Linked DNA regions of Homo sapiens: all the other regions are linked to region 3. The links are contacts of gene promoters, found by promoter capture Hi-C in blood cells and fetal thymus (Javierre and others, 2016). All regions are on one chromosome and are shown on one strand. Each heading gives the region's core, a stretch centred on a gene start or on the middle of the fragment in contact. The rest is flanking DNA. Distances are from core to core; before and after follow the strand shown. Region 1 overlaps PTK2B (protein tyrosine kinase 2 beta). Region 2 overlaps CHRNA2 (cholinergic receptor nicotinic alpha 2 subunit). Region 3 holds the start of CLU (clusterin). Region 4 overlaps CCDC25 (coiled-coil domain containing 25). Region 5 overlaps ESCO2 (establishment of sister chromatid cohesion N-acetyltransferase 2).

Region 1 (2,700 bases), core at 153-2,652, 260 kb before region 3:
GCCTAATCTGTGCCAGGCATAGTTTTACATGCTAGGGATATGGAGTGAAAATATGGTCCCTAGCCTCATGGAGATTATGTCAGATGACTGCAATTTAGACTCTATAGCTCCCCAGTCATGTGACCTCTGAAAAGTCACTTAATATCTTTGAAGCTCGGTTTCTACTCTGTAAATTGGGGTTACTAGTAGTAATTGGGGTAACCAAGCCAACCTCATTGGATTTCTATGGGGTTGCATAAGAAGGTTTACTTAGTTCTTAGCACAATGTCTTAAACATAGTAGACGTTCCCTTTTTCTCATTAGTTCTCTTCATCCTCACTCTTTGCTCCCCTCCTTGGTAGATTGGTTAGAACCATCTAAATTCCCCCAGGGCAGCACAGGGCTGTGGATATAGCTCTGCACTGTAGGTTCAGCTGAGTTAAGCCATCCTCAGTTGAGTTGACTGCTACACAGTTTTGTAGCACTCAGGCCAAATGAAACCATGAAGAAGAAAAGAAGCAATACTTTTTGCATTTCTGTCCATTTTTGCTTTATATTTTTAATTGTCTGTGTTTTGGTGCATATAAGCTTATGATTGTAACTTCTTGGCAAATTTTTCCTTTTTAACATGATTCCTCATAATCATATTTTTAATGTTTTTCTTCAAATCTTATTTGCTATTTTATATATCAATATCAACTTTCACTTAGTAACTGGTTTATATTTTTCTGTCTCTTTATTTTTAACTTTTGATGTCTTAATGTTTTTAGGTTTGCTTCTTGTAAACTACAGATAGCTGGATTTTTAAAAAATTAAGTCTAAGTGTCTTTGTCTTTTAACAGGCAATTTAAGCTTCTTTATTTATTAAGACTTCTAATATATTTAGTATATGTATACTACATTATTTTGTTTGCCATGCTTCATCTTTGCCTTTTCTCACCTCTTGCCTTTCACTGTATTGATTATGTGTTTATTATTTTCTCCTCTTGTAGCCTATTGGTTTAGAAGTTATATATTAGGTTTCTATTATTTTAATGGAAAAATAGGTTAAAAATAAAACCTAATAATAGGTTTCTATTATTTTAATTTTTTAACACATACTTGAATTTAAGGTCTAACATTAATCAATATCATTATCCTCCTTACCAAATTGGAAGGATTTTATGGCACTTTGACTCTAATCTTTCTCTTCTCATGTCCCAAACTGTTGTCCACTGGTATTATAGTATTATCTTCTTTTCAACATCTCCCCTCCCCATTTTAGCCATTAGGATTATTATCTTGGACTTTGCATACCTTCTTTTTTTTCTATTTAGATATTGCAAATATATATATTTTTGAAACATACATAGTCTTGCTCTGTCACCCAGGCTGGAGTGCAGTGGCGCGATCTCAGCTCACTGAAACCTCCACCTCCCAGGTTCAAGTAATTCTCCTGCCACAGCCTCCCGAGTAGCTGGACTACAGGCATGCACCACAATGCCTGGTTAATTTTTTGTATTTTTAGTAGAGAAGGGGTTTCACCATATTGGCCAGGCTGGTCTCAAACTCCTGACCTCAAGCGATCTGCCTGCCTCAGCCTCCCAAAGTGCTGGGATTACAGGCGTGAGCCACTGCACCTGGCCTTGCAAATATACTTTTTATTGTCTTAAGTTATTCCATTTACTTCAGTTCTTGATTTTCTAATCTATAACGTGCATCTGCTGCCCCTTTCTCAAGGTGGGTTGCTTGGTTGTATGGATCGTCACTGTGAATTGGGGCAGGAGGAGCAGGGTATTTATGTGTTTTTGCTTATGGAAATGCACTCCAGAGTTCTGCTTTTTCCTCTGCTTGAATCACTTGTCACCATCTCTGGATTTGTTTTTATTTTAATTACTTGGATTAGAATTCCCACTGCATGTAAGTAGAATGACACAGGTTTTGGGTTTTACCTTCTCTCTTTCTTTCTCTCTCCCTATCTTTCTTTCTTTCTTTCCTGGGACCCAGACAGAGGTCAAGCTTCTTCATGCCCAGGGCTGGTGAACAGTGTTTCTAGTGCCCACCTTGTAGTCAGGATGGTATTTGTTGAGTTAATCCCTGCCTCACAAGGGTCTGGAGCCTGAAGACATCACCCTGCACAAACGTTAAACCCCCGGCCCCAGCTCCTGGGCCAACATCCTCTGATACCCAGGTGGCCTCCATAGCTTTAGTGCCCACACACTGCTTTAGATTTTTCCGGATATTTCTGACACCTGAGAATTTCTTCTTTACCACTCGGATGTGATTAAGATGTCTTTGTTATGGTTTATTCAGCATGCCATGCATATGAAGGGGGAAGGGCCCAGTCGACATTAGGTCTGTCTATTACAGGACTGAAAAATCATACATCCCCATGTTCTCACATTGGCAAAAGCTCACTTTCATTTATTCAGTCAACAAATGTCACTGAGTCAACTAGAATCTAGGTCTAGGGTGACGCATAAAGAGACACAGTCCTCCCTGAGCTCCCAGAACTTAACACCCAGAATGGGAGATGGGCTGGAATCAGACAGCCCAAGGAATCCATGCGCGATGCCGGCAAGCGCCGCAGAGAAGGAAAGTCATGCTGATGCTGATGGGAGACGGCTGATGCTCAGAGGAGGCCTGGCCTGGGCAGGGGTCAGGGAGGGATAGAGACAGGGAGCTGTCACAGAGGCCAGAGGACAGCCCAAGAGCATTCAGTGTTTCTGGTGCCCTTCCTCC
Region 2 (2,700 bases), core at 85-2,584, 140 kb before region 3:
CAGTTTGTGGTTTTTCCTACACATTGTATGATCCTACTGATATGGAATATGCAGAATAGGCAAATCTATAGAAACAGAACGTAGATTAGTGGTTGCAGGGGCAGCGGGAAGGAGGGATGGGAAGTGACTGCTTAATGATCACTGAGTTTCCCTTAGAGGGGATAAGAGATCTCTGGAACTAGACGGTGTGATGTTACACAGATGTGTGAATATACTAAAATTCACCGAATTGCACACTTTAAATGGGGGAATTTTATGATATTTGAATTTATCTCAAAAAAAGTTATTATTAAAAAATAAACAAACACCTCATGGATTAAGAAGCAGCAGCTACCCCTCTTGACTGTGGTGACAGTGATATTTGCCAAACATGGAGAATCAATACACAAAGGGTTCTAGTGACCAGAAGGACACAGATGTCAAAGATGGGGTAAATATAATGTTTCATATGAAATGAATGTTTCATAATTGAGAAAATTGGGAAAAGCAGTATTTTAAAATATTATTTTATAGAGTATTTGATTTAAAAAATATATATATATATCACTAAAATAACATTATTGCCTTAAAAGCTTACACATTCAAATTAGCATTTTTTGAAACAGCCCCCCTTATGGAGAGAAGAGCATGGCCTCATGTTCCGGGACACATCGTGTATGTGGCCTAGGGAGATAACAAAGGCTCTCGGTACAGCTAGTGGGTGCAGGATTTCCTTTGGAAGGGTGAGAATGTTCTGGAACTAGATAGTGGTGACGGCTGCACACTGTTCGAATTGTACTAAATGCCAATAACGATCAATTTTATGTTATGTGTATTTAGCCACAACTTTTCAAGAAAGAATAAGGGTAAAAGTGGCTTTAAAAATATAAACCAAGGGCTGGGTACAGTAGCTCATGCCTGTAATTCCAGCTCTTTTGGAGGCCAAGATGGAAGGAGTGTTTGAGCTCAGCAGTTCAAAACCAGCCTGGGCAACATAGTGAGACCCCCCCCGCCGTCTCTACAAAAAATTCAAAAATTAGCTGGGCATAGTGGTGCGTGCCTGTGATCTCAGCTACTGGGAAGGCCAAGAAGGGAGGGTCGTGTGAGCCTGGGGAAGTCAAGGCTGCAATGGGCTATGATCTTGCCACTGCACTCCAGCCTGGACAACAAGCAAGATCCCATCTCAAAAAGAAAATAAAAATAAAAGTAAACCACCGGGTATGAGAGAATCAGAATTATTATTCATGAAGTTGTGAAACCACTTCTATCTAGTCATTCTCATCCCCCCCGTCCACTCTGACACAGACTCTCAACAGTGTTTCCAGCATCACTAATCCTCCATCTCTCCCAGGGTCGGTTGCACCGGCCCATCCTAACCTCCTGGCAGGAGATGAGAGCAGGGCTGGCACTGGCAAATGTCGCTTTGAGTCCTGGCCCCACCACTGGCTGGTGATGATCTGTGAAAGGTCACTCAATCCCCCTGGGATTTTGTCTTAAGATAAAGATTGGACACTTTCTGCCCTGTGGGAGGAGTGACGGGAGCAAACGGGATCACTTGTGCCCATGAAAGTCCCCGGGGAACTGCAGAGGGCTGGTCAGGGAACAGGTTGCTCTTATGGTTGTCAGGGCCCATGACCCACAGTGGCATTGCACAATGACAGTTTGGGTCAAGTAGGAGAAGAGGAATGTGGGAAGGATTTGATGTGAATTTCAATGTGTTGGAATTGCTGGCATATACTGACTACAGCACAGACACCAGAGTGTTTTAGGGGAAAAGGGCCTGCCTGCATCAATTTCCCCAGAAGGTTTCAATTCAAAGACTTGTTGAAAATAGAGGATTACATTTTTCTTCTGTTCCCTTGGGAGAATATTGCCCCTGTCCATGAGCTGCCCTTATCCTCCATGCCACCCTACACCCCATCCTGCCCTGGGATTCCTCCCTTTGTCCCAGCTCTTAGAGGTTCCCGGTTCCTTCCTGGCTCTGAAAATCCCCAGCTGGCAGGTGCAAAAGGTTGGCGGTTCCCAGTATATGTATGGAATGAACTGCCCGAGAGAGCATCCCAAAGCTCTCCCAGAATGGTGCCTCCAGGGGGAGAAGCAGGGAGTCCTGGCAGTGGGAAGCTTCTCCACAGATAGGCCTGGTACACACAGCCCCACTGGAGCTGCTCTGTTCACACAGCAAACCCTGCAGCATAACTGTCAAGAGCTCTCGTTCAGGAGTGCAGCTTTATATAATGTGTAAACTCACATCGCCCTGCAAATTATGCAGAATGTTTGTACAGCACCCACCCCAGCCTGGGCATCAGCAGCTTCTGTGGCTCAGGTGAACCGCAGTGGCAAGGTCTGGGATCTCTGGCCCTCGAAGGTGCAGGGACTTGTCCCCAGGGGACTTCCCCAAAGCAGACCATTGCAAAGGAAACAGCACAGCTAACTGATTTCCAGAGACAGCTTTACCATCTTGCTCTTTTCTCTTTTAATCTCTTTTCTGCATACAAATAGATCACCTGTGTTATCTCTGGGCGCAGGAATTAGAGGTGATTATTATTCTTTTTGACAGTTTTCTGCATTTTCCAAATTTCCCACTATCAACATGTATCGGTCACTTAATATAAAAATAATTTTCAAGCAGGCAGCAATACCTGTGATGTGTTTTACAAGCCCTCCCCTCATCTCACAGCAGCAGGAGCTCACCCAAACTGTGTAGATTTGACTCCACTCTTC
Region 3 (2,700 bases), core at 144-2,643:
ACCCGGATGGCGGAGGTTGCAGTGAGCCGAGATGGCGCTACTCTACTCCAGCCTGGGCAACAGAGTGAGACTTGGTCTCAGGAAAAAAAAAAAAAAAGAGAGAAAAGAAAGAAAGAAAATCAATGACTGTGAACAGGGAGCCGTGGGGAGGATGGGAAGACAGTGAAGAGGGCACACAGATGGTGAGGGTTTCAATCCCAAAGCCCCGGCTCCTATCTGCTTCTTCAAATGGAGAAAACTAAACCAAAAGGAAAATAAGAAAAATAATCACCGGTAATTCATATCACCCAGAGGCAAAGGTTAGCACTGTGGTATATTTCCTTCTGTCTTCCATGCAGTTTATACAAGATTCTTCACATTCACCATCTTCAAATATTCTTTAAGGGCATACTTTTATGGCTATGTAATACTCCACTTACTCACGGACCTAAGTTTATTTTACCATTCTCACAAGATTGGCCATTTCAGTTGTGCCCAATGCTCCACTATTATTATAACTTAACATTTTCATGGGCATCTTTTTTTATATAGTATCTGTACTTTCCTTTAAATTCCTAACCTCTCCGTTTAAAAAATAATAATAAAAATCATATTTTTTTTAACTAGGTCCAGAAATTCTGGAAGGTCAAGAGGCTTTGGCTCGAATCCCAATTCTGATACTTATTTGCTGTTTAGTGTTGGCACCAGTCCTAAACCTCTCCAGGCCTCAGATTATCATCTGTAAAATGAGACTGTGGAATCAGAGGTCTGAGGCCTGGTGGATCTTGTGTGACTTTTCTCTGATGCACCTCAGATGCATTAGGAGGCAGAAAAAGTCGGATTTCGGTGGTTGCAGCATATACTGAAATCCGCAGCCTCATACTTACAGGCAACAGTGTCCAGAGAGCTAGAGAATTTAGAAGAAAACTAGATGACTCATGCATGCAAGCCGAAAGCCACAACTGAGAGATCCGCATCTTCGCAGAGGATATGCTGCAGGAAGGAGCTCGGTGCAGGCCAGCTCTGTCACCTGCTAGCCTGGGTCTCCCGCAACGCGGCAGGTCTCCAGGTCTCAGTTTCCCCATCTTTGCGAAAGGATGATCATTATATCTGTTCTATTTACCCCCCCACCACAGAATTGTGGTTGGAGCTCGTGCTCTCAGGCGGCGGTTGCGCCGGGGCCCCTGGCTCAGCTGCCTGGTGATGGGGCTCCGGCCACCTCCCCTCCCTGGCTTCCTGGGCTCCGTCGAAAGCGCAGGGGTTGTGACTGCGAGCTGTGTCATCCCTCTCTGCCTGGCTGCCATCCCCTGCCCGCCCATCCGTCCTGGTGTGGCTCTGCTCAAGGGTAGGGAAGACGGGGACATCTCACCGGTCAGCGGCACCCTGTGCCCGCGCGCTCCTCCTGGCGACGCCGCGTTGTGGGCACTGGGAGGCGCCGTATTTATAGCGCTCTGCTCGCGCACACACCCCCTTTGGGGCTGGCTGCAAACCTGCATGACTCACGCCCAAAGAATGCCGCGGAAAGCAAGGGGAGCTTTCTGGAAGCCGGGAGGTGGGGGCCGGTGCAGCACCGGGCTGGGGGCGCCGGGGGGCGCATCATCACCACGAATAGCTGTGCTGGCTCCAGGAGAGACCCTGAGGTGCGGCCGCTCGGCGCTTCCAGTAGGGAAGAGCCTGAACTCGCGTGCCCATCTGGGAGCCCCTCTCACGCGGTTAGCCCGGCTGTCTGTCCCAGTCCAAGACACAATCTCACAGTTCCCTGGCCCTACTGACCTTAACCTTCACATTACACAAGCGCCACTTCTCTTGACCCATTTAAATAGTAAAGAGTCAGACATAATGAGGGTGGGATGGAGAGGGGCCTTGTGCTGGAGAAGAGAGCACAGGAAGTATTGAAACGCCTACTCCTGGAAACATCACACTGATGGGGGTCCCTGGACTGACCCGCCAGGCCTGGAGGAAACAGAATTGTGTTTAGGAGTGATCAGAGCAGATATGTGGAGAGCCAGAAGGCCTCTCCGGGGTCCTTGATCCACAGAGCTTAAGCAATCACTGTCCCCATCTTTTTGGAACCCAACCAAGCAGGGTGGGCTTCATGGCTGTGGGACCCTTGCAGATCCACGTTTGGTTTAATGGGCTACTGTGACGGTCTTGAAATTCTTCATAGTTTTTGAACCAGTGGACCTGAATTTTTATTTTGCCCTGAGCCTTCCCAGTTAGGAAATCAGATCTGTGTCCAGAGGGGTTTGCTGGTCTCCAACTGCTGGAGTTCCTTCTGCTGAGAGCAGGGAGAATCTCCTGTCGCAGCCACCCCTCCCCCTGGCAAGGAGGGGCAAATCTAGGAACCCTGGAGGTGCAGCTACTTCTTGGGGAAGAAAGTGAGCTGCCCATTTTGGAGCCAGGGATGTTTAAGCCCCAGGAGAGAAGTCAAGGGGCTGACAGCTGGGGCAATGGGTGGACAGGGCGGGTACAGGCAGCCCCACTGTGGGTGGCAGACTTTGAAAACCATGTGAAACAAAGGGGCTTAAAGGAGAGCTGCGTGGTCAGGGGCTGAGTTTTCCAGTTCAGGATCAGGACTATGGAGGCACAACATGGAGGCCCAGTCCCTTGCTTGCCCAACGTCCAGGGGCCACTAGGACCCCAGTCCTTTTCAGGAGGCAGCCTCGGGGAATCTTCAAGGCCCATGACTAAGTGGGAGAACCCAGACCAGGTCCATGAAAG
Region 4 (2,700 bases), core at 179-2,678, 150 kb after region 3:
ACCTTAATGAAATGAAAAACTGAGGTCATAATTTATTGGATGTGGGTTGTAAACTGGAAATTTCTCTTCCATTTATTTAAACAAATGAAAGTCAGGTAGAAGGCTGTGGTACACTGATTTTCAGGCTGCATCTGATTATGTAACCTTCTCTATGCAGGTTTTTATGCCTCAAACCTGATAGGTTAAAAATTTCCATCAGCTAACTGCCTAACAGGTGCAGCCATTCTTATTCCCATGAGAGTCTGGAGATCTTTAAAAACAACTGAAAATCATCCAGCTGGGGTTGGCAGGAGCTCAAAATGGAGATAACCATGATGTGGCCATTGTAGGGAAATGTCCATGGAGACTGCTTCTACGCTGGCAGGGAGTCAATTAGGAAATCAACCAATATTTACTGAATACCTACTATGTGCCAGGACCTATGCTAGGTACTGGGGACATAGTAGTTAATGAAATAGGTGATCATTGTCCTCATACAGCTTACTGTCTCAGGCCCTAGGAAGGCGGGCAGCCCCAGTCTGGATGTTTTCAGCATTGCACACTGCCCACTTGAGGCAAAAGAGCACCAAGCAGGGTTTAACTTGATGACATATTTGGATTTAGAAGACAGGTTTTTGTGCTGGAATAGGGACCAGATTTAAATAAGCCTTTAAAATTCCTTTGTTCTGGCTGGGCGCGGTGGCTCACGCCTCTAATCCCAGCACTTTGGGAGTCCAACGCGGGTAGATCACCTGAGGTTAGGAGTTCGAGACCAGCCTGGCCAATGTGGTGATAGCCCCAGTCTCTACTAAAAATACAAAAAATTAGCCAGGCATGATGATGGGTGCCTGTAGTCCCAGCTACTCGGGAGGCTGAGGCAGGAGAATCTCTTGAACTAGGGAGGCAGAGGTTACAGTGAGCCGAGATCGCACCATTGCACTCCAGCCTCGGCAACAAGGGCGAAACTCCGTCTCAAAAAAAAAAAGAAAATTAAATCAACTCTTCTAAAAAGCAGTAGCCCAACTCTATCACTAGAGGGAAATAAGTGAAGGGTCTGTGTCCACATTTGGAGAAAAGAGGTCCAGAGAGAGCTGCAGCAACAGCCTGGGAGAAGAAAGGAGCTGAAGCCAAAAGAGCAGCAGCCTGGAGAAGACAGAAGCAGTGACTTAGAACCAGAGCCAGAGCCAGTAGCAGACAGAGCAGACCCAGTCAGTTTCTCTTAACCTTAATTTCCTCATCTGAAAAAATGGGCATAAATATTAATATCTATTTCACAGGGTTGTTGTGAAGTTAAATGTATTAATGGAGGTAAACACTTAGTAGTATTTGGCATATAGTTAAGTGCTTGACAGATATTCACTATCATAATAAAGCAAACGGGACCCAGGTGCCTTTATCTTCAGGGATAGCATTTGGTAGGAGGTATGAGGAGTCAGGAAGATGATATCCCACTCCATAGGCAGGACTGTGCTCTAGAAGAGAGGCAATACTAGGGTCAGAGTCAGTGGTGGAAGCTGAAGATGAAGAAAACGAAAGTAGACTGGGTGTGACAGTGTTATAGGACAGAAGCCCATGTATTCATAAAAGGCCCCAGGTCTGAATGGTAGAAGTCTATATGGTGTTCTAAGACAGAGAAAAGAATTCAGCTTAAATGAAGTCTTTTTGTTTGTTTGGTATTCTTTTTTTTTGGACTGGGTTTTGTGAGCAAAATAAATGATCTCAAAAGGAGACTAAGAAAGTATATGTTATTATTTAAAACAGTTCACATAAATTGTTTTAGAAAGAAGGCGTCGGGGTTGGATCAAGACAGAGCTAAACTCATCAGGGAGTTTAGAAGACAAAGGGGAACAAGTGTGCTTCCTTTAAAGCTGGACCAGTAAGAACCTCCGTCTATTCCATCCGCATGGATGCTTGTATCTATTTTCTTCATTGCTTCATGTGAAGTCTTCATTTTTCCACTCAAGAACAGTGGTCTGAATATTTAAGTGAGGTGTGGTCTCAGTAACTTACTATGGCGTGGAGACAAAAAGGAGGAAAAAGAAGGCCTGTGTCCTAGAGGCCTTTGCTCTCAAGCCTGAGATCAAACCCAAAAACATCATTTCCAACTTGCAAGGTAATTAGAAATGAAGGAACTGGCAGTCAGCTGTTTAACCCTGAAGACCCATAAACCACAGTACAAAGCATGATTCTAGTTTGAATGCTTGGCCAAGTCTAAGAAAGGAAATGATGATCTACAGAGGGCAGAACCAAAATTGTTACTTACCAGATATCTTCAGGCCAGCCATGCTTGATCAGATCTTCATCTGCAATGAGATATGAGAAACGAAAGAAACAAAAACTGTCAAATGAAGATATGCCAGGGTTTATAAGAATGGGAGAAATGTCAGCTCCTCCCACAAATTTCTCTCTCCCTCAATGAAGAAGAGTAATTCGGAGGCCTTGATGCTTGAAAATACAGAAAAAATAATAATTTTCATAATTGAACAATATGAACTTTATAATTTTTATAAATTTATATAATACTTCTAATCTAAAGCTCAGATATTATTTCTATATGAAGATAATAAAACTAACACTGACAAAACAAAGCAACCAATAGTTCAGATGTTTCAGATAATCAATTCACCTAATAATACTTAAACATTAAAAAGAACTGGCTGAAACTTTAAAGAAATATTTTACTTCTTTAAGAAAAATTAACTTGATTATAAAATTACAGAA
Region 5 (2,700 bases), core at 197-2,696, 160 kb after region 3:
GTCAGTGTATATCTATCTATTTAGATCAGTTTAGTTTTGATCATTTTACTTACTGCTGCCCTTGTAAGGCATTTAAGTTTTTAGTCCTCACTGTAAATGTTTGTTTTTTTTCCTGTTTATCGAGTATGGCCAAGTAGATTGTTAAATGAGATACGTTCTTGCTAGCTAAGCCATGACAGTCTAATTTTACTAATTCATTTTCTGTTTATATCAACAAAACACTTCTGTGTCTTGATAGGGATTTTGATTACAAGAGTAAGCTTTATCAAAATGTATTAAACTGTGCTTTATACTTATACATTTGTATGAAAATTAAGTTTTTTGAAAGTTTGGGGCGTAACTCAAGCTAAAATTGTCTCAATCCAGTAAAACAAAGGAAGAGTCTGCAGTTTCCCCATGCATCTCCTGATGATTATTCTTATCTGTTTGGTACAGCCTGGTGGTGTACCAAATGAATGGTGACCTGATGAATTCTCTGTAACCAGTGTAACAGAGAATTCTGTAATTCTCTTTTCTGTCTTATTTTCTTTTTCTTAGCTTCACTTTACGGGTTTGGTATTGAGTTAGTTTTCAGTAGTTTGGGAAGCTGGGCTTTTGTGCATTTTAAATTTGTGGAACGGGGCTATGCTCTTTCAAGATTTTGCTAAATACCCATGTCTGGGATTCGTCTCTGCTAGCTAAGGGCGAATCTGATTTTCTGTTTTTTTATTTTGAGATGGAGTCTCACTCCGTTGCCCAGGCTGGAGTGCAGTGGCATGATCTCAACTCACTGCAACCTCCGCCTCCCAGGTTCAAGCAATTCTCTGCCTCAGCCTCCCAAGTAGCTGGTATTGTAGGCACCGGCCACCACACCTGGCTAATTTTTGTATTTTTAGTAGGAACGGGGTTTCACCCTCTCAGCCAGGCTGGTCTTGAACTCCTGACTTTGTGATCCACCTGCCTTGGCCACCCAAAGTGCTGGTATTACAAGTGTGAGCCACCGCGCCTGGCCGGTGAATCTGATTTTTGTGAGGATACCCTTTCCCCAACTCATGGAGCCCTGAAAAGTGTTAAACTGATGGGTTATCCCACCTCTGCTGGGATATTATGGTTTTGAGTAGAAGTTCTACTTTAACCAAGAGTTTTTTTCCTTTTTCCCCAAGCTATATATTCCCTAGTAATTCCCAAATTAGTATGAGGGAAATCTGTCAGGATTTTTTTCTACTTTGCTTTTCCCACATTCCTGCTACTCTCCAGTGACTCTAGAATGTTCTTTCCTTAGCTGCTGATTTTTAAAGTTTATGGCAAAAAGTTGTCCCTTTCCAGTTTGGTGGCTGCTGGGGAAACTTTTGCCATTTTTACTGGCTTTTTTGTTCATTTCATTATGGAAGTGATGGTCTGTAATCATTCTGCCATCTCTGTCAGGAAGTATAACACATTTTTGAGAGGATGACAGATTACAACACGTGTACTCTGGCTTTTTTTTCTTTTGAGACAGTCTTGCTCTGTTGCCAGGCTGGAGTGCAGTGGCACGATCTTGGCTCACTGCAACCTCCGCCTCCTGGGTTCAAGCAATTCTCCTGCCTCAGCCTCCCGAGTAGCTGGGACTGCAGGTGCCACCACGCCCAGCTAATTTTTGTATTTTTAGTAGAGATAGGGTTTCACCATGTTAGCCAGGATGGTCTCAATCCCTTGACCTCGCAATCTACCCACCTCGGCCTCCCAAAGTGCTGGCATTACAGGCATGAGCCACCGGGCCCTGCTGTACTCTGGCTTTAAAGGTAATGTACGCTTAGTGAATACAGGGGAAGTTTTCCTAAAAATAGTTTGAAAATTGATTGAAAATCACATTATGAAATGTAATTCATAATAAACCAAATCTTTTGTTTTAGAAATAGATCTGCTGGGATTCATTCACTAGAAAATAGTTAAAAATTACAGATGTTTGGTTTTTTTTTTAAACCTATTTTCAGGATTCATCAGATGACAGAGTTTCTTCAAAGGAACATAAAGTTGATAAAAATGAGGCTTTTTCTTCAGAGGATTCTCTTGGTGAGAATAAGACAAGTAAGAGAAAACTCGCATGAATTTAGCTGCTTAAAATAATGCTTTATTACATACATTATACAATAATAATTCTTGTAATTTCTGGGTCTTTCTTTTTTCAGTAGCGTGCCTGTGGTTAGTATCTTTGTTTATCTCTGTGACACTGTTTTCTGTAGTAAAGCAGTGCATTGCGTTTTGAAAAACAAGAAACAAGGAGATCCTAGGTTAAAATTTTAGACAAAATATTAGGCTTAATTGGTCTATGGCTGTGGCCAAGTTACTTAAGCTCTCTAGAGTTGAGTGTTCTCATTATAAAATCATACCTACTCTATCTTTCACCCAAAATAATAGAAGTTAAAACTATTATGTATATTTGTGATCAAAGCCCAATTGTGAGCAGAACTTACTAAGTTTTATAAGTGACACTGAAATTAAGCATCAAGAACCATGGATTTTTGTCTAGGTTTACTAATAATTAGCTGTATGATCTAGGAAGATATCTCTAAAGAGTTAAAGTTAATTTTTAAATTCCTGTCAATTCTGAAATCCTATTCCTAATTTATGCTGTCAGTGTTCAATTAAATAGCTTACTAAACTATGAATACATAAAGCTTTTTTTTATGATTCTGAGATATGATGTTAATAACTAGTATTTACTGAGTGCTGAATATAAGG

The links. Contacts are between HindIII fragments. The CHiCAGO score rates a contact against its expected background, and 5 or more counts as called.
Region 1: a fragment that was not itself captured here is called in contact with the fragment with the promoter of CLU in region 3 in 1 of 17 cell types (erythroblasts); the score reaches 5.1 in erythroblasts.
Region 2: a fragment that was not itself captured here is called in contact with the fragment with the promoter of CLU in region 3 in 1 of 17 cell types (megakaryocytes); the score reaches 6.0 in megakaryocytes.
Region 4: a fragment that was not itself captured here is called in contact with the fragment with the promoter of CLU in region 3 in 3 of 17 cell types (megakaryocytes, endothelial precursors and M1 macrophages); the score reaches 17.1 in megakaryocytes.
Region 5: a contact is called between a fragment that was not itself captured here and the fragment with the promoter of CLU in region 3, in 1 of 17 cell types (endothelial precursors). The highest score is 5.4, in endothelial precursors.

What each region holds. Positions count from the first base shown.
Region 1 is chr8:27,357,812-27,360,511 of GRCh38, forward strand. All of the region lies in intron 1 of PTK2B (protein tyrosine kinase 2 beta), which reads left to right. Among named protein-coding and RNA genes, the nearest start is that of PTK2B, 34 kb to the left of the region's middle. The HindIII fragment of the contact is 1,146 bases long and covers 830-1,975 here.
Region 2 is chr8:27,472,543-27,475,242 of GRCh38, forward strand. All of the region lies in intron 1 of CHRNA2 (cholinergic receptor nicotinic alpha 2 subunit), which reads right to left. Among named protein-coding and RNA genes, the nearest start is that of CHRNA2, 5.4 kb to the right of the region's middle. The HindIII fragment of the contact is 1,528 bases long and covers 571-2,098 here.
Region 3 is chr8:27,613,307-27,616,006 of GRCh38, forward strand. It overlaps CLU (clusterin), which reads right to left and starts at 1,394. Exons shown (of 9, transcript NM_001831.4): 1 at 1,349-1,394. RefSeq lists enhancers at 1,026-1,525, 2,482-2,700 and a silencer at 1,548-1,637. The HindIII fragment of the contact is 8,616 bases long and covers 1-2,700 here.
Region 4 is chr8:27,760,177-27,762,876 of GRCh38, forward strand. CCDC25 (coiled-coil domain containing 25) reads right to left here. Exons shown (of 9, transcript NM_018246.3): 3 at 2,243-2,282. Among named protein-coding and RNA genes, the nearest start is that of CCDC25, 11 kb to the right of the region's middle. The HindIII fragment of the contact is 4,892 bases long and covers 1-2,700 here.
Region 5 is chr8:27,778,222-27,780,921 of GRCh38, forward strand. ESCO2 (establishment of sister chromatid cohesion N-acetyltransferase 2) reads left to right here. Exons shown (of 11, transcript NM_001017420.3): 4 at 1,953-2,046. Among named protein-coding and RNA genes, the nearest start is that of ESCO2, 5.0 kb to the left of the region's middle. The HindIII fragment of the contact is 2,376 bases long and covers 259-2,634 here.